Linked DNA regions of Homo sapiens: all the other regions are linked to region 6. The links are contacts of gene promoters, found by promoter capture Hi-C in blood cells and fetal thymus (Javierre and others, 2016). All regions are on one chromosome and are shown on one strand. Each heading gives the region's core, a stretch centred on a gene start or on the middle of the fragment in contact. The rest is flanking DNA. Distances are from core to core; before and after follow the strand shown. Region 1 overlaps ACBD6 (acyl-CoA binding domain containing 6). Region 2 has its middle 19 kb from the start of OVAAL. Region 3 has its middle 31 kb from the start of XPR1. Region 4 has its middle 10 kb from the start of OVAAL. Region 5 has its middle 20 kb from the start of LINC01732. Region 6 holds the start of KIAA1614. Region 7 has its middle 6.5 kb from the start of ACBD6.

The links. The method cuts DNA at HindIII sites, captures the fragments that hold promoters and counts their contacts. A CHiCAGO score of 5 or more calls a contact.
Region 1: a contact is called between a fragment that was not itself captured here and the fragment with the promoter of KIAA1614 in region 6, in 1 of 17 cell types (fetal thymus). The highest score is 6.5, in fetal thymus.
Region 2: a contact is called between a fragment that was not itself captured here and the fragment with the promoter of KIAA1614 in region 6, in 17 of 17 cell types (megakaryocytes, monocytes, endothelial precursors and 14 more). The highest score is 7.7, in megakaryocytes.
Region 3: a contact is called between a fragment that was not itself captured here and the fragment with the promoter of KIAA1614 in region 6, in 2 of 17 cell types (neutrophils and endothelial precursors). The highest score is 5.5, in neutrophils.
Region 4: a fragment that was not itself captured here is called in contact with the fragment with the promoter of KIAA1614 in region 6 in 1 of 17 cell types (naive B cells); the score reaches 5.5 in naive B cells.
Region 5: a fragment that was not itself captured here is called in contact with the fragment with the promoter of KIAA1614 in region 6 in 1 of 17 cell types (monocytes); the score reaches 5.3 in monocytes.
Region 7: a contact is called between a fragment that was not itself captured here and the fragment with the promoter of KIAA1614 in region 6, in 10 of 17 cell types (endothelial precursors, megakaryocytes, erythroblasts and 7 more). The highest score is 9.4, in endothelial precursors.

The regions. Positions count from the first base shown.
Region 1 is chr1:180,491,265-180,493,964 of GRCh38, reverse strand. ACBD6 (acyl-CoA binding domain containing 6) reads left to right here. Exons shown (of 8, transcript NM_032360.4): 3 at 1,600-1,696. Among named protein-coding and RNA genes, the nearest start is that of ACBD6, 10 kb to the left of the region's middle. The HindIII fragment of the contact is 530 bases long and covers 1,077-1,606 here.
Region 2 is chr1:180,538,848-180,541,547 of GRCh38, reverse strand. No RefSeq gene overlaps it. Among named protein-coding and RNA genes, the nearest start is that of OVAAL, 19 kb to the left of the region's middle. The HindIII fragment of the contact is 1,066 bases long and covers 770-1,835 here.
Region 3 is chr1:180,599,299-180,601,998 of GRCh38, reverse strand. No RefSeq gene overlaps it. Among named protein-coding and RNA genes, the nearest start is that of XPR1, 31 kb to the left of the region's middle. The HindIII fragment of the contact is 2,105 bases long and covers 227-2,331 here.
Region 4 is chr1:180,568,044-180,570,743 of GRCh38, reverse strand. No RefSeq gene overlaps it. Among named protein-coding and RNA genes, the nearest start is that of OVAAL, 10 kb to the right of the region's middle. The HindIII fragment of the contact is 4,766 bases long and covers 1-2,700 here.
Region 5 is chr1:181,193,623-181,196,322 of GRCh38, reverse strand. No RefSeq gene overlaps it. Among named protein-coding and RNA genes, the nearest start is that of LINC01732, 20 kb to the right of the region's middle. The HindIII fragment of the contact is 2,944 bases long and covers 1-2,700 here.
Region 6 is chr1:180,911,647-180,914,346 of GRCh38, reverse strand. KIAA1614 reads right to left here and starts at 1,450. Exons shown (of 9, transcript NM_020950.2): 1 at 1,054-1,450. The coding sequence starts at 1,103. LINC02816 (long intergenic non-protein coding RNA 2816) reads right to left here. Exons shown (of 4, transcript NR_185877.1): 4 at 291-2,700. RefSeq lists a silencer at 1,355-1,654. The HindIII fragment of the contact is 8,183 bases long and covers 346-2,700 here.
Region 7 is chr1:180,507,688-180,510,387 of GRCh38, reverse strand. No RefSeq gene overlaps it. Among named protein-coding and RNA genes, the nearest start is that of ACBD6, 6.5 kb to the right of the region's middle. The HindIII fragment of the contact is 2,352 bases long and covers 241-2,592 here.

The sequences.
Region 1 (2,700 bases), core at 92-2,591, 420 kb after region 6:
TATATTACTCTGCTGAAATAATTTAACCCAATTCTAATCATGATTAATCATTTTTGGCAAGAACACTGTAGGTAAGGAAACAATTAGACAAATTCAAATTGAGGGATATGTTATAAAACAGTTGGACTCTTAAAAAATACCAACAATGTGGAAGACAAAAAAGCTGAAGATACATGAAACTCAATGCTGTGTGTGGATCTTGATTGGTTCCTGGTGTGGGAGAAGAAAGCCATAAAGGACATTATTGGGACAATCAGGAAAATCTGAATGTATAGCCTCTATATTGTATAATAGTAATTGATGATAAATTTCCTGAGTTTGTGTAAGCTGATCTATTTAGGGATGAAGTGTTATGATGCGTATAAGTAATTCTTAAGGAATTCAGTGAAAATAAATTTAGAAAACCTCAGAAAGATATTATATTCATCATAGAAGCAGGAAGGTAGTGAAAAAATGTGGGATTGAGTTCTGTTTGACAGCAAATCAGGGAAATCGAGAAACACTGGTTGGAATTTAGAAAGAATTGGCAGGGAAAAACCAAGAAGAAGGCCTGTCCTGGCAGCCTGTTGTGGGGGCAGGGGGGTAGATGACCCAAAAGGAAGCTCAGGACTAAAATGTTGCTTTTGCCATTTATATTGTAGGAAGTCCCTAACTTACTCATTAGTATTCTTTAGTTGCTGTTGTTGTTTTTTTTTTTTTTTTTTTTTTTTTTTTTTTGAGACAGAATTTTGCTCTGTTGCCCAGGCTGGAGTGTGGTGGTGCCATCTCAGCTTACTGCAACCTCTGCCTCCCAGGTTCAAGCAATTCTCCTGCCTCGGCCTCCAGAGTAGCTGGACTACAGGCGCACACCACCACGCCTGGCTAATTTTTGTATCTTTAGTAGAGATGGGGTTTCACCATGTTGGCCAGGCTGGTCTCAAACTCCTGACCTCAGGTGGTCCACCTGCCTCAGCCTCCCAAAGTGCTGGGATTACAGGCGTGAGCCACCAAGCCTGGCCAGTATTCTTATTTCTGCCCTCACCATCCCTTACTTTTGAAGTCCCAGACTAAGTCCCCAGGATCAGTTACTAGAAGCTTATAGATGAGATAACAGCAGAAAGGGAAGGTGGATTTCTTGTATCTTAGTAAGAAGTTTGATGCATTTTCCTTGGGAATATTGTTTTTTATGTGATGATTAGTTTCTGTACGACCAAAATGCCATAAGCACAGTTAATTTATGAGAATAATCTCTATTAGTCTGTAGATCATATATCCTCAATAGGGGTGAAATTTTGTTTGAGGAAATTATAAAATCTTAGATTACAGTGGTTTGTGGTCTTTCAAAATTTAATAGCTATGCATTGTATCTGTGTTTTTAAAATTTCACGGGGAGGACGATTAGGAAAAAAAATGTCTGAAAAGACTGCTTAGGTAGGGCAATAAGGTCTGTATAGCTCTAGACCAATGTAAATGCAAAAAGACAGAGCTTCTCTATCCATAGCTTATTATCTCTATATTCAGAGACCCTTGAAATGTGCATACAGTTTTTTTAATAATAAGAAAAATGCTGTTTGTGTTATTTGCATAATGACAGGCCATTTTGGATATTCCATATTGTAGGGAAGCTTGGAAAGCACTTGGTGATTCAAGCCCCAGCCAAGCAATGCAGGAATATATCGCAGTAGTTAAAAAACTAGATCCAGGTTGGAATCCTCAGGTAAGACTTAATGATTATAAATAATACTTTCCAAAAACTTATGATCCTTCTCTGAAATAAATGTCTAAAACTAAACTTAGTTTTAAGTAACATGCTTAAAGTTTTACTTTCTTGAAATATTTTAAAGTTATTGTAATATTTATCTAATAAAATAATTGCTGGCCAGGTGTGGTGGCTCATACCTGTAATCCCAGCACTCTGGGAGGCCAAGCCAGGTGGTTCACCTGAGGTAAGAGTTCAAGACCGGCCTGGCCAGCATGGTGAAATCTCATCTCTACTAAAAATACAAAAATTAGCTGGACGTGGTGGTACACACCTGTAATCCCAGCTACTCAGGAAGCTGAGGCAGGGGAATCAATTGAACCTGGGAGGCTGAGGCTGCAGTGAGCCAAAATCAGGCCACTGCACTCCAGCCTGGGTGACAGTGTGAGACTCCATCTCAGAAAAATGAAAAAAATTAATAATAATTACTTAAATAGTAATATAACCAGCTACTGATGCTGAGAACTTCTCTGAGTTGCAGAGTTTTTGAAAGCAGAAAAATTTGAATTACATAAGAATTGGAAAGAGTTTAACTTGAGATTATCATGCTGGAAAAAAGGTTACTCTTGGATTTCGTTTTTATGATCACTTTCTATGCAAGGGCAAAATGCTTATTAGGGATAAAAGATGAATAAGACATGATTTCTGCCATTATGTAGTTTAAAGTGTAATAGAGAAGATAAAACATATCAAAATATATATCTTTAATAGTATAAAACAATAATAATGTAAATGCTAGGGAATCCAGCAGGAAAAGGGATTGCTTTGGACTTTGGAAGCATTGGATATTGTTCACTTAAATATACCCTGTTTTTCTCATATACTTATTGGAGAACATCTAGAAAGAATTTAATAAAGGTGAGGTTACTATTTAAGAATATTGTTAAATGATTAACAGGTATTTCAGTGAGATAGAGGTTGCATTGTACCATGTAAAAAATGCAAATTGAATTTTTTTCAAT
Region 2 (2,700 bases), core at 53-2,552, 370 kb after region 6:
TATTTGATTAGAATGCTTGGGGGCGGGAGGGTTGCTGTTATTGTTGTTTGTTTTTCGATGAAATGAGACCTGGTAGGCTGGGTGTGGCACGGGTGAAGAGGGGCATTGAGATACTGGCGTCTGAAGAGACAAGTGGCACTGCATCTGTCTTCAGACCACAGACAAAAATAACAACTATAGCTAGCACGTAGTCAGTGCTGAATATGCGCCAGGCATTGTTCTAAGTGCTTCGTGTGTAATTATCTCATTTTAAAAAGATAAATTCATTGGGAGATTTTCAGGGGCTGGTGAAAGTGCGTTCTTTTTTGGTTGAGGGGAGGTTATCTAAATGGGTCAGAGTTTGTGAGTGTGTCAGGCCAGGGAGCATTAGCTGATGCAAAATACTCTACAAGGTGGCTGAACTGTCTCCTCAACTTCCAAATAGAAGTCACGTCGAGGAAATGTTTTTGCTGTCACCAGGTCTCAGGAGGTGAGTGTAGTCCTGGTGACCTTTGAATCCTTTGCCCTGGACGGATCTTATGTCTTCTCTTTCTCACCTCCACTCCCATCCTGTGTCTTAAGTTGTATGTGCAGAGTCCCAAAATGTCCCATCTCTGGCAGCAGCCTCTGTGATTCATCACCGGTGGTGGCGGCTGAAGGCTGCCTGGAATTGCTTAGCCTGGCAAGGTTTTCTTAATGTTCCTGTGAATCAGTGGGGTTATTATTCATCGACTATAATAATTTTGGTTTCTTACCCATGAAATGGGATCACAGGGGATATTGCAAAGCTTGGAGGGATATGTTTTGTTAAATATTGCATTCTTAAGATACTCTGAGGTCAGACCTCAAAAAAATAAGGAGTAGACAGTGAAGCCAAAACTGCAGCTGAAGGACTCTAGGTAGAGGCACCACGGGAGATGGGCCTAAGCACAGGGAAACCTCTGAGCTCCAGGTGAGTCAGAGTGAGGGGCTCACAGGGGAACTTAACTACTGGGACACTGTCAAGATAAAGTCAGGGGCAGGCCAAGATTGGTGCTGGGAAAGCCTGGGCTGGACCCTAGAATCTAGTCCATGAAACCGAAGTAGAGTTGATACAGTCCAAGGTTCGGTACCTGCTTAAATCAGAATCCCAGGTATATATATATAACCAAAGGGTATATCTGTGAACAAGCTGGCAAAATATGTCAGGAAGATAAGGCATAAAATTGGGATGGCACCAGTCAGCATAGACCCATTAAAATTCTTTTCCATCTGTCCCCTGCTGAAGACCAGAGGACCTGACACTGTTAGCAGGCCTACTTCTTTTCTTTCCTTCTTTCCTTCTTTCCTCCTTCCTTTCTTTCTTTCTTTCTTTCTTTCTTTCTTTCTTTCTTTCTTTCTTTCTTTCTTTCTTTCGTTCGTTCGTTCTGTTGTTTCTTTCGACAGAGTCTCACTCTGTTACCCAGGCTGGAGTGCAGTGGTGCGATCTTGGCTCACTGCAACCTCCGCCTCCCAGGTTCAAGCGATTCTCCTGCCTCAGCCTCCCGAGTAGCTGGGATTACAGGCGCATGCCACCAGGCCTGACTAATTTTTGTATTTTTAGTAGAGATAGGGTCTCACCATGTTGGCCAGGCTGTATATGTACTTTAAAGGCGCTGCTCTCTGAGCCCAGTGTCTTCCCCATAGGCCTGCCCTGCAGGCCCTTTCCCAACCTACCTCCTCTTGCTGTCAGTGTCCACAGAGCTGAACATTGCTGCTTGGCCAGGTGGATGAGTATGAGGGAAGAACTGCTTATCCTGGCCAGTCCCTGGGCATTTTTCTTAACTGAGAAATAAAACAAGGAGCCATTGTTCAGGCAAAATATTTGGGTGTAAGCTTCCAGCTCTTGTTGTAGCCCTAGTTACTTTATCCATTAAGATCTTTAGAAAAAAAAATACATTTTTAAGATCCATAAATGCCAACATCTTCTTTTCTGCCTTAGGGACACAAATCTATATCGAGATCCACAACCAAAATAAGTAGGAATTTAAATCGAATGGGCTTGCACACCTAATGACCCCCTTCAGTGGTAGAAATATTTAATGATAGCTTAGTTTGTGGAAAACCCCAGCGACCAGGTTCCAAACAGTCTCAGCTGGGAAACCCAAGTCTTTTTCATTTGGAAATTCTCGATGATAGGTTTTCAAAGCAGCTGATAAAACAGTTAATTATAGTGAGGTGTTTGGCTTCTCTGTAACATACACTTTCAACTGGTCTATGATTGGAGCTTCTTGTCATGTACTCTGAGCAGGGCCAACTAATGCTACCGTACTTTTTTTTTCCTTTGGGGGAGAGGCTTCTTAAATTACTACATAAGTAGAACTTCAGATAAAAATGCGACGTCTAGCATGAGAGCATTCAATAGAGCCCCTCCAATCTCCGCTATCGCTTCTTTTTCTCTGGTGCATTTCACTTTAGTTATGCTGGGGTTGTACAAGCCTGGCACAAGCTCAGCACAAACCCACTAGATCTTTCCTCTTGATCAGTAGCTCTCAAATTTTAGGGAACACCAGAACCCTCCAGTGAAAGATTGCTGGGCCTTCCAGAGTTTCAGATGGGACCTGAAAATGTGTATTTCCAACAGGTTCCCAGATCATGTTAATGCACTTTGTCTTGACAGGGAATCACATTTTGAGAACTATCACTCTAGCTGTTCCTTCTGCCTGAAGCTCCTTCTCCATAAATCTGCTTGACTCACTCCTT
Region 3 (2,700 bases), core at 30-2,529, 310 kb after region 6:
GAAACAAAAAGGGAACTGAAGATAGTGTTCCAGGTGAAATAGGGTCAGAACCAAAGAGACAGCCACACACTGTATCAATCTAAAATGAGCTGGGCAAAGAGGAAAAAAATGGATGGGAGTTAAAAGATTGGTAAGTAAGGATAGAAGAATAGAACCAAAAGTTTAGAAAGCTGGATGAGAGCCAGAGCAGAAAGAATTCTCAAAGTGTAGATAGCTAAGTCAAGCTTGCATTTATAGGATGCCTGTAGCCTTGCCCATGGGTGGAGAGGGAGCATTTAAGGATGCCAAGCCTTCCTGGACATTTCCTCCTCTGCTAATCTCTTTAAGAGGGTTAGCAACAATCACTGCTCCACTTCCTTAGTTCAACCTCATTTCAAAACACATTGCAGTCTCAATTCTATCTCTACCTTCCCACTGAAACCTCTTGGGAAAGGATTGCCAATTGTCTCTATATTGGTCTCTTCTCTGAGTGTTCCTCCACGAGTTCCTTCTCCTCCTTCTCTGTTGCCCAGTGTTTAAGCATTTGTATCTACAGAATTTCTTCTAGGATCTTCTAACCACCCTTACAATCATTGGGCATCTTCCTCTACTTTTGCAGATTTTAAATCAGCAGTTTTGTTAACTTCCAAATCTGTATCTCTGGTCCCTACCTCTCTACTAGCCATCAGACTCACACCTGAACTGTTTGGCTCTGCGGTCCTTCAAATGTTCTGGTGTCTAGATTGCCGTGCAGGCATGGTAGGTGGCAAACAGGAGAGTGGGAAGAGCTGTAGGATAAGGAAAGAAAAGTAATGGGTGATTAGCTAAAAGCAAGCTGCTATATCAACTTATTTCTAAAAGAACGGGGCTTTTTAAACTCCTCTCTGAAGTGCTTGCACACACCAAAATCACCTGTGTTGGATAACTAAGTTAAGAAATCCTTGAGTGTATGCTCAGCTTTACCTATTTCCTAACTATGGGACCAAGAGTGGACTTGGGTCACAGAATTGTCATTCTGGGGCACTGTCATTAAGGGAACTCACTCTGCAAGTGGGTTCTTCTCTCCAACTAGCAAATTCTTTTGATTCTATTAGTTTCAATTTCTCTGAAAGAGAATTTGATTGGCCCAGGTAATCTTTTCATGCTAGGACCTCATTAGATGGGTCGCCTTGGGTCAGGCACATACCCCCAAGTCTAATCCAAAGTTACCTTTATGCAAAGAACATCCTAGCATTAATTCCCTGGGAACGAGCTGAGAGCAGTGCACTTCATGATGGAAGGCAAAGTTTCTCATGGCTGACACCTCCAGCGCTTAGCTGTGGAACATATAGAGGAAGTTCCTACCACTGCCTGGGAAATTAGGAAAGGCCTCATCATGGCTGTGACATTTGAGAAGGCCTTAAAGGATAGTAGGTATTATGTGTGATTTGTGTGGCAATTTCAAAATGTTGCAGCATTATTCCAAACCTAGGATTTGCATTCAGTTATTGCTTGTTCACTTTTTTCCTTTTCTAAATCATGAGTCACTTTCATTCTTAGGAAACTCCACACCTGAAGGAACTGGAACTTTCTCCTTTCTTCTCTCTTTTCTGTCTTTCTCTTCTCCTCTCTCTCTCTTTTCACCCTCTCTGTCTCTGTTTTTCTTTTTCTGTCTCTCTCATTTTGTGTGGACATTAAACAAAGTCTAGAATAATATTCCCTAATTCTTTCATTTATTCACTCAATATTCAGTGCCTACTATATGCTAGAGCATTTTATAGTTTATAAAATGCATTTTATAGATCATTTTGTTTAGGCCTTATCACAAGCCTATTAAGCAGTTATTATTATAAAATACATTTAATTCAAACAACCGAGGCTTAAGGGGGTTAAGTAATTGATCCAAAATCAAATTGGAAGTATAGTGGGAGAGGGGAGATTTGAACCTAAGCGGAATCTCTAAAACCTATATACTTTTCACTATACCACACTGGGATGACTCACAAATCACAGAAAAACATGACATTAGATCTGATATGATTAATTGAACAACATCAGCAATTTGCCATTAAATGCTACCGATTAACATCTGTCATATTCTTGCTGAGCATTTTCCTAAACTGAGGGTTCAGGTTACGTAACTAAAACGAGTAATCTTCCAAAATAAGTCTGTGAGTTTGAAAAAGTTCTCCAATTAAATTAAGTTTATTTTTTAACAAGTTAATTTTTTAAATGAGAAATAGAAAATTCTTTCTCTCTGGCATTTGTTCTTTGCTTCTGCCCTTAGAAGCCTATCCTGTGTATGTAATATTTATTAATATATAACAATGCTACCTTTTACAGTATGTACAGTCCATTCCCCATTGGTAAGCTTCTTATGTTTGCATTTGGATAGCTCAGCTAGTTTGACTGTATGACTAAGAAATCAGTTGAATTTTTTGGAGTGACTTTATTTTTGCACCCCCATTCCCTTTCAGATTCGAAAGTAACAGATGCTTATTGTATAAAAGGCAAACCATACAGATGTCTTAGAAAGTAAAAAGCCCTGGCAATTCCACCCTCAGACATAACAGTTATTAATAATGTGGTGCATAGTGTTTCAAATTCCTTCTACTCAAATACTAACACATACTATATTTACACATATTTTTACATAAATGGGATCTGCCATACGTACTATTTGGCAATTTCTGTTTGTTTGTTTGTTTGTTTTTGACTTAACATCTTATCTTTGTCAGTACC
Region 4 (2,700 bases), core at 142-2,641, 340 kb after region 6:
TAAATTATTGTGCTGAACAATTTGGGAGGCAGGTGCAGACATAATGTCTCATTATCTCTTAATACTTTAGTGTGCATTTCCTAAAAGCAGGACATTCTCCTACATAACTAAGTAGAAACATCAATACAATGTCACCATTTATTCACAAACTTCCAATTTTACCATCTGCCCTGATAATATCCTTTATGGGTCCAGAATGCAGTTGAGGATTGGTTGTTGGAAGTAATTAATTTGGAACAGTTTCTCAGCCTTTCCCTGTCCTGCATGCCTCTGACATTTTCAAAGGGTACAGCCAGTTATCTGTAGAATACTCCTCAGTTCAGGTTTGTCTGATACTGCCTCGTGATTAGCTTTATGTCATGCATTTTTGGCAGGAACACCACAGAGTAATGCTTTGTTCTCAGTCTATCATATCAAGGGTACATGATGTCAATTTGTCCCATTACTGGTGATGTTAAATTAAAAATGGGTAATAAGAGTTAACAAGTATTTTGTTGGAAGACACTGTGAGATAATGTAAAGATGCTGTTTCTCATCAAACTGTCATCCACTAGTTTTTGCATCCATTGATGATTCTTGTCCAAATTAATTTCCATTCTGTTGGTTGCCAAATGGTGATATTCTAATTCCATTTCTCTTTCTTTCTTTTCTCTCTCTCTCCTTTCTTTTTTTGAGACAGGATCTCGGTCTGTTGCTCAGGCTGGAGTGCAGTGGCACAATCACCGCTCACTGCAACCTGAACATCCTGGGCTCAAGCAATCCTCCCGCCTCAGCCTCCTGAATAGCTAGGACTACAGGCACATACTACCATGCCCGGCTAATTTTTGTAATTTTTGGTAGAGATGGGGTTTCACCATGTTGGTCAGGTTGGTTTCGAACTCCTGACCTTAGGTGATCCACCAGCCTTGGCCTCCCAAAGTGCTGGGATTATAGGGATGAGCCACCGTGCCCAACTTTTATTCTTGATATTCCCTTTGATTCTTTATTGCCCTCACTTTGGCCCATGGAAGTCCCTTCAGGCTGGTCCCTGTGTCCTTTCTCATCCTGAGCATCACCTCACTTTCTGGCTCAAGAAGATGCTCCAGGCTCATCTTGGACATTCCCTGCCCCAGGCCTGTATATTAGCTTCCTTTGACTGCCATCTCAAATTACCACAGATTTGGAAACAACAGAAACTATTCCCTTACAAATTTGGAGGCCAGGAGTCTGAAACCAATATTAATGGGATGAAATTAGCTATTGGCAGAACCACACTCCCTCCAGAGGCTCTAGGGGAGAATCTGTCTATTGCCCCTTCCAGCTTGGGGTAACTGCTGGCACTCCTTGACTTGTGACTGAATCACTGCCTCCATAGTCACGCTGTCTCCTCTTCTGTCTGTAATCTCCCCCGTCTCTCTCTTATAAAGACACTTGTGATGGCATTTAGGATCCACCTGGCTAATCCAGGATAATCTCCTCATTTAAAAATCTTTAACTTAATCACATCTGCAAAAATCCTTTTTCCAAATAAGGTAACATTTACAGGTTCCAGGGGTTAAGATGTAGATATCTTCGAGTGGACCAGTTTTAAAACTACCACATCCTGGAATCAGCTATTTCCTGATGGAGTCCTATTTCCTTTTAATAAAAAATAATATCTAGAAGCCATGATGTGGATGCTAGGTATGCTTATTGCTACTTGGGTGCCTTTACTTTCAGGCACTCGGTGCAGATAGAGCTAGGAAATTAGGTATATAGATAGATAGATATGTCTATGCATGTATATGTGTATCTCTATATATGTATATATTTATATATACACACATAATACACATAAATCTTTGTTATATATTTACATTAAAAACCAGGAGTTCACACCAATACTTTCAGTTCTATTCCAACACCACAGCATTTATTCTAGCCTTCTTTCATTCTATATTTGTAACTCAAATATAGATCTCTCCAACAGTGAGCGGCCTGGCTCCCATCATTTTCAATATGTTTACTTATTTGCTCAATTCCCCTGTAACCAATCTCCTGATCATACCAGCTAAATCTACTCAGCCCTGTTACTGCCAACCACACCAGCTTTAGGGGATGAATCCCATCAGCCCTAGGAAAGGGGAAGGGCGAAGAAACCTTTTAATAAAAAAAGAGGCACAATATGATTTTATTAGAGAAGTAGAAATGTCAGTGTTGAAGATAAACCTTTCTTCCATTAAGCTCAAGGCACCTTCATTTGTGATCGCACATTTGTTATGCTCAGAGACGTGTCCTTAAGTCCCAGAAATGAGAGAATGACTTTTATAATCCAACATCCTCAAGAGCTTCCCTCTTAAAGGCTTCAAGATGACAGTGAAAGGTTCAGAAATTCCCCAGCACAGCATACATAAACACATTTCATGCTGCATTTTCTCATCCTTAAAAAAATGTGCATTGCCAGACATGCTGAATCTCAAATTGCTTATAGATATACAATTTTTTCAGTTGGATGAACACCTTTATGCTTAAAAACCCTAGAAGACCCTGGGGGGAGCAATTTCAACATCCATGCAGAGACAATCACAGATGATTTTGCCCCTCACTAACTATCTCTCTGATGTTGTCAATGGGAGGAAGGATGGAGTTCAGCAGTGCCATTTATATTATGCTAGACAAACACTGGATTTATATTTCTATTGTGTGGCATCATTGTCTAACACCTAACATGGTTTTCCTGTG
Region 5 (2,700 bases), core at 83-2,582, 280 kb before region 6:
GGGGCATTCCCAGTGTTTTTTTCCCTTCTTCCTCGACTTTTTATTTTTTGGTTACTCTTTTTTTTTTTTTTTTTTTTAAGAGACAGGGTCTTTGTCACCCAGGCTGGAGAGCAGTGGTACGATCATAGCTCACTGCAGCCTTGAACTTCTGGGCTCAAGTGATCCTCCCACCTCAGCTTCCCAAGTAGCTAGGACCACAGGCTTGCACCACCATTCCCAGCTAATTTTTGGTAAAGATGGGGTCTCACTATATTGTGCAGGCTGGGGTCTCAAACTCAAGCAATCTTCCTGCCTTGGCCTCCCAAAGTGCTGGGATTATAGGCATGAGCCACCATGCCCAGCCACAATCATACTTTCATGACAAGGTGTATTAGTCTATTTTCACGCTGCTGATAAAGACATACCCAAGGCTGGGCAATTTACAAAAGGAAGAGGTTTTTTGGACTTACAGTTCCACATGGCTGGGGAAGCCTCACAATCATGGTGGAAGGCAAGGATGAGCAAGTCACATCTTATGTGAATAGCAGCAGGCAAAAAGAGGGCTTGTGCAGAGAAACTCCTGTTTTTAAAACCATCAGATCTCACGAGACCCATTCACTATCACAAGAACAGCAAAGGAAAGACCCACCCCTATGATTCGATCATCTCCCACTGGGTCCCTCCCACAACATATGGGAATTATGGGAGGTACAAGATAAGATTTGGGTGGGAACACAGAGCCAAATCATATCATTTGGCCCCAGACCCTCCCAAATCTCATATCTTCACATTTCAAAATCATTCATGCCTTCACAACAGTCCCCCAAAGTCTCATTTCAGCATTAACTCAAAAGTCCGCAGTCCAAAGTCTCATCTTAGACAAGGCAAGTCCCTTCCACCTATAAGCCTGTACAATCAAAAGCAAGTTAGTTACTTCCTAGATACAGTGGGGTTACAGGCACTGGGTAAATACAGCCATTCCAAATGGGAGAAACTGGCCAAAACAAAGGGGCTACAGGCCCCATGCAAGTCCGAAATCCAGCAGGGCAGTCAAATTTTAAAGCTCCAAAATGATCTCCTTTGACTCCATGTCATGCTGGTGTAAGAGGTGGGTTTCTATGGTCTTGGACAGCTCTGCCCCTATGGCTTTGCAGGGTACAGCCTCCCTCCTGGCTGCCTTCATGGGCAGGTGGTGAGTGTCTGTGGCTTTTCCAGGTGCATGGTAGAAGCTGTCAGTGGATCTACCATTCTGGGGTCTGGAAGATGGTGGCCCTCTTCTCACAGCTCCACTAGGCAGTGCTCCAGTAGGGACTGTGTCAGGGCTCCCAACCCACATTTCCCTTCTGGACTGCTCTAGCAGAAGTTCTCCATAAGGGCGCTGCTCCTGCAGCAAACTTCTGCCTGGACATCTAGGTGTTTCCATACATCCTCTGAAATCTAGGCAGAAGTTCCCAAACCCCAGTTCTTGACTTGTGTGCTCTTGTGGGCTCAATGCCGCATGGAAGCCACCAAGGCTTGGGGCTTGCACCCTCTGAAGCCATGGCCCAAGCTCTATGTAGGCCCCTTTCAGCCATGGCTGGAGCAGCTGGGATGTGAGGCACCAAGTCCCTAGGCTGCACACAGCATGGGGACCCTGGACCCAGCCCACGAAACCACTTTTTTCTCCTAGGCCTCGAGGCCTGTGACGGGAGAGGCTGCTGTGAAGACCTCTGACATGTCCTGGAGACATTTTCCCCATTGTCTTGGGGATTAACATTCAGCTCCTTTTTACTTACACAAATTTCTACAGCCAGCTTGAATATCTCCTCAGAAAATGGGATTTTCTTTTCTATCACATTGTTGGGCTGCAAATTTTCCTAACTTTTATGCTCTGCTTCCCTTATAAAACTTTATAAAACTGAATGCCTTTAACAGCACCCAAGTCACCTGTTGAATGCTTTGCTGCTTAGAAATTTCTTCTGCCAGATACCCTAAATCATCTCTCTCAAGTTCAAAGTTCCACAAACCTCTAGGGCAGGGGCAAAATGCCACCAGTCTTTTTGCTAAAACATAACAAGAGTCACCTTAGCTCCAGTTCCCAACAAGTTCCTCATCTCATCTGAGACCACCTCAGCCTGGACCTTATTGTTCATATCACTATCAACATTTTTGTCCAAGCCATTCAACAAGTCTCTGGGGAGTTCCAAACTTTCTCACATTTTACTGTCTTCTACTGAGCCCTCCAAACTGTTCCAACCTCTGCTGTTGCCCAATTCCAAAGTCATTTCCACATTTTTGGATATCTTTTCAGCAGCACCCCACTCTACTGGTACCAACTTACTCTATTAGTCTGTTTTCACACTGCTGATAAAGACATACCCAAGACTGAGCAATTTACAAAGGAAAGAGGTTCAATGGAGAACTCACAGTTCCACGTGAGTGGGGAAGCCTCACAATCATGGTGGAAACAAAGGAGGAACAAGTCACATCTTACGTGAATGGCAGCAGGCAAAAAGAGAGCTTGTGCAGAGAAACTCCTGTGTTTAAAACCATCAGATCTCATGAGACCCATTCACTATCACAAGAACAGCATGGGAAAGACCTATCCTGTGATTCGATCATCTCCCACCCAGTACCTCCCACAACACATGGGAATTATGGGAGCTACAAGATGAGATTTGGGTGGGGACACAGAGCCAAACCATATCACAAGGACATTAAGTTCTTCAAGAAGTTTTAAGG
Region 6 (2,700 bases), core at 201-2,700:
GTGGCTTGTCAGCGCTGCACAGATCCTTAGCAGCATGGCTGATGTTTATCCCTTCACAAGGAATGAAGGTGAGCAGGGGTTTGACTCAGGGTGTTGCATGCATATCTACATGCCACAGCGTTTTAATATTGATTCTACCTTCTGAGAAAAATACAACTTTAATATCACACATCTAGATGTCCCCCCCCCCTTGAAGTAAACTTTGTGCATAAAAATCCTTATGTGTATACACTACAAATTAGGAGTTATCCACTTCGTAACACGGACCAAGTATTCACCATAAAATTCTCTTAAATGGCAAGTCTCTCTGTAGTCGTTTATTACAATTCAATTTATACACAAGCTTTCAGGAATGCACATATTTTATAAAGCAAAATACACATATAATGCGAAATGTCACACCAGTTTTAAGCCAGTAAAGTTTAAGGATTATCTTTAGGAGGACAGAAATAATTTGTTCTATGAGTTAATCTAGAATGCAGCAAGTTTCTCTTTGCATCTCCTTCTTCTCCTCTAAAGTCCAATCCAGAAAACAGGGGATTAGAATGTAATATGAGCAATTTCTGTTAAGTTAAAATAACTTTTTGTTTTTGGGGAGGCTGAAGCCAGAGGAGGCCGGGCTTGAGCCCGGGAGGTCGAGGTTGCAGTGAGCCATGATCGCACCACTGCACTCCAGCCTGGGCGACAGAGCGAGACCCTGGCTCCAAAAAATTAAAGTAAGAATTGTTGATGGGTAAACTCTGGAACAGCACGCCAGAGACCTTAAAGAATGAGACCCTCCCACTGGAGTCCCCTGGGCACGGGCTTTCGGGAAGATCGGTCAGCTCGGAGCTGCCTGGTTCTATGGCCCAAGCACTGTGATGTATTTCCCCTAACTCAGAGGGGCCAAACGAAGATGGACGTGAAGGGCGGGCCTCCCCACGACCCTTCCAGCTCCGAGCCCGTGGGAGGCCCGCTTCCCAGTGGCCGGGGCGACCTGGGCTCCCCGCTCCTCCGCCCCGCCGGTCCGCCACCCCCGCCCGGCCGGCCCGGCGCTGCCTCCTCTATACTCACTGGGGGCTGCCGCCCGCGGGTTTGGCCGCCGCCGCCTCTGTCCCCTCCATCCCTCGGAGAGGCCAGGCCCTCTCCAGCCCCTTCTCCCTCCCAGGCCAGCTGCTGGGTTCGGGGAGGGACTTCCAGCCCCGAATCCGGGGCCGGAGGGAGTGCGGCCCGCAGGCCTCGCCCCTCGGGGCGCGGCCGACTGGGGGTCCGGGACGGCGCCGAGGCCGGGCCAGCTCCCGGCTCTGCTGGCAGCCCCCGGGCCCCGGGTGGGTCTGGCCGGCGCAGCGCCCCACGGGCCGCACTCCCTCCCGGCGAGAGGACGGGAAGCGGGGTCGGGCAGGGAGGGCGCTGGCAGGGAAGGAAGTGGCATCAGCTGTCCGTTCACGGCTTTGCCGTGGAGGGGAAGAGCGGCCAAGCCCGCGCCTTCCCGGCCCGCGCTGGGCAGAGGGAGCCGAGCGCGGAGAGGTGGGGCCGCGGGAGGGGCTGGAGGAGCCGGGCCTCGGCCTCCCACCCCGCCCGGAGCCCCGCGGGGCCGCCTCTCCTGAGCCGCGGCCCAGGGAGCGAGTGTCCCCGGCCGTCAGAGGCGCGGGATGGAAGTCCAGGGCGGCCCCGAGCTTGGGGACGACGGGGCGGCCGCCAGCCTCGCAGGGCGGTGGCCCCTTCCCCGCGGGAAAGCGGGCGCAAGAGCGGAGGCGCGCGGGGCGCACGGAGGCCGGGGAGCGCGGGCAGGAGCTGGGGGCGCACCACGTTCTCGGCGGGCTCCGCGCGCCGCTGGTAACCCTACACCCAGGGCTCGCCTTTCGGGGTGGAAGCTGAGGAATGCCTTTTGTGTGGACAAGTTTTCCAGAGGAGCCGGCCGCCCTCTCTGTGGGGCCGTCCATCGCTCCGTAGAGCCGTTTCCTCCGAGGTCAAGGTCGTTGGTTCCCGCTCTCCAGAGGCGTGAGGGAAACCCGGAGGGAACGCGCTCCGCGCATCCCGTCTGCCGCGGTGCCGGAATTGCCCGCCGCCGCCTTGGGTGGGGACCGGTTCTCAGGGTCCTGGGGGCTCTCGAGCAGATCACTTTCCCCAGCGCGGGACGGGGGTCGCAACCAGGGGCATTCCCTGCAGCCGCGGCCCAAACCGACGGAGCTTGCTTTCTCCTTCCACCCAGAGGGGGTGACCGAGCCTCACCTATTTCCAAGCCTATTTTTTCACAAAGACGGGAAGCAATAAAAGTGGCCTCAGGAGATTCCGGAAATCTCTACAAAGAGAAAGTGCCCGTTCATCTTTCCTTCAGCCGACTGGCTTCACTGTGAAGCATGGGGTAGTTGTGCACCTCCAGATGACAGGACAGACACAGCAACAGTAAGGGCCGCGCAATATGTACCGGGGCAGGGGAGGAGGGGAAGGAAGTTTTCTAGAGGGGCTGCCTCTTGAGTCAGGAGGGGGTTACTCTGCACAAGGTGGGGGAAGGGGCGTCTGGCAGGGCAACAGGAGAGCGGAGCCTGGGGAGCTGTGAGTGGACTGGCGTCTTGGCAATCTAGGAGCTTGAGAGATTATCCAGTGCAAACCCTCTGTGTCACAGTACAGGCCCAAGGTTACGTCAGAGGCTTCGAACCAGAGCGACTCCATCTTGTGTGAGGGCGAGGAAAATGAGGCTGGGACTTGCTGGGCCACATT
Region 7 (2,700 bases), core at 167-2,666, 400 kb after region 6:
ACACACATTTATAGTAGCACAAATGCAAAAGATGTGGAACCAACCTAAGTGCCCATCAACCAATGACTAAAGAAAATGTGGTATATAGACACCACGGAATACCACTCAGCCATGAAAAGGAATAAAACAATGTCTTTGGCAGCAACTTGTATGGAGCTGGAAGCCATTATTCTAAATGAAGTAACTCAGGAGTGGGAAACCAAAACCTGTATGTTCTCGCTTGTAAGCGGGAGCTAAGCTTTGAGTACATGAAGACATACAGAGTGGTATAATGGAGTTTAGAGACTCAGCAGGGGGAGGGTGGGAATGGGGTTAGAGATAAATAACCACATATTAAGTACAATGTACACTACTTGGGTGACAGGTGCACTAAAGTCTCAGAAGTCACCACTACATTATTCATCCATATAACAAAAAAAATTTATACCTCAAAAGGTATTGATACAAAAATTTTTTAAATGTCAATATTTCACAAAAACCTAAATTGTACTAAACCCAGTGCAGTTACTTTTGTAACGAGGAAAATATTTTGTCTGGTTGCCCTGACTTCAGTTATGCTACTGAAACAGTTATTGTGTCTGCAATTGGTGGGTTCTTGAACTCACTGACTTCAAGAATGAAAACGTGGACCCTCACGGTGAGTGTTACAGTTCTTAAAGATGGTGTGTCGGGAGTTTGTTCCTTCTGATGTTCGGACGTGTTTGGAGTTTCTTCCTTCTGGTGGGTTCGTGATCTCCCTGGCTTCAGGAGTGAAGCTGCAGACCTTGGCGGTGAGTGTTACAGCTCTCAAGGCGGTGCGTCTGGAGTTGTTCATTCCTCCCAGTGGGTTCGTGGTCTTGCTGGCCTCAAGAGTGAAGCTGCAGACCTTCGCCATGAGTGTCACAGCTCACAAAGACAGTGCGGACCCAAACAGTTAGCACCAGCAAGAGTTACTGCAGAGAGCAAAACAACTAAGCTGGAGACCTGAGCGACTTGCCGCAGCTGGCTCTTGGCAGCCTGCTTTTATTCTCTTATCTGGCCCCACCCACATCCTGCTGAGATTGGTCCATTTTACAGAGAGCTGATTGGTCCGTTTTGACAGGGTGCAGATTGGTGCATTTACAATCCCTGAGCTAGACACAAAAGTTCTCCAAGTCCCCCACTAGATTAGCCAGACACAGAGCACTGATTGATGCATTTACAAAGCCTGAGCTAGATACAGACTGCTGATTGGTGCATTCACAAACCTTGAGCTAGACACAGGGTGCTGATTGGTGCATTTACAATCCTCCAGCTAGACATAAAAGTTCTCCAAGTCCCACCTCCCCCCACCAACTCAGGAGGTCAGCCAGCTTCGCCTGGTGGATCCCGTGCCAGGGCAGCGGGCGGAGCTGTTCAACCAGTCCAGCGCTGCGTGCCTGCGGGCTCCTCAGCCCTTGGGCGGTAGATGGGACCGGGTGCTGCGGAGCAGGGGGCGGCACTCGTTGGGGAGGCTAGGGCTGCGCAGGAGCCCATGGCGGGGTGGGGGAAGGCTCGGGCATGGTGGGCTGCAGGTCCTGAGCCCTGTCCTGCAGGGAAGCAGCTGCGGCCCTGTGAGGATCCGAGTGCAGTGCCGGTGGGCCGGTACTGCTGGGGGACCCGGCCCACCCTCTGCAGCTGCTGGCCCAGGTGCTAAGCCGCTCACTGCCCGGGGCCAGTGTTTCCGGTCTGCCGCTCCAAGTGCAGGGCCCACAGATCCCATGCCCTCCTGGAACTCACGCTGGCCTGCGACCGCCACGCGCAGCCCCGGTTCCAGCCTGCTCCTCTCCCTCCACACCTCCCTGCAAGCAGAGGGAGCCGGCTCTAGCCTTGGCCAGCCCAGAGAGGGGCTCCCACAGTGCAGCGGCAGGCTGAAGGGCTCCTCAAGCACTGCCGAGGCCGAGGAGGTGCTGACAGCCAGCCCTCTGTGAGGGCTGCCAGTAGGTCGTCACCTCTCATTATGACTTTTGTTAATTCAGATGTTTAGATCAGTTCAGATGTTATGTTGGGAAGCATTTTACAACAATCACATATTTTTCTCTTTGCATTTCTTCTTGAAATACTTAGAACTGTAGTTTATAATGAATATAAACACTGGAAAATGCCACAACATTGTTGGGTAGTATTCTAATAACATAACATTCAGACCTTCTAGCAAGGTTAATAGAACTACTCAGCATCACTTAAACAAATTGCCAGTTTGAGGACTTATTTTGCTTCTAATTTCTTAGAACATGACTCATAGAATTTTATTTATTATGCATATCATGTCATCAATATTTATTTTACTTGCAAGAATGACTCATTGTTACCAGAAGATGGGGCTGTGAACACCATATGCAACATGGCCACCATCATGAGCCAGACTGATTAGATCTTCACTACTTCTTTCCTGCCTGCTCCTTTTTCTGCTCACTTTAGACTCCATTTGTCAGTGTTTCCTGCCATTGCTTTTCACTTGTTAGCGGGTTTGTTTGAATCAGTGTATGTTGACTGCTAAACTTCAATTCCTGCAGAACTGTAATACTTTCTTTTGACTTCCTGATTTCTTGGCTGATTTTTCTTGGGATTCAAAGAAACATAAACAGTTAAGCTTTGAACAACTCAGCAATAAGGGGATCGACCCCTAAGCAGTCAACTACTGTTGACTGCAAGCCATGCCAAGAACACAAACAGTTGAGTAACACATATTTTGTATATGTA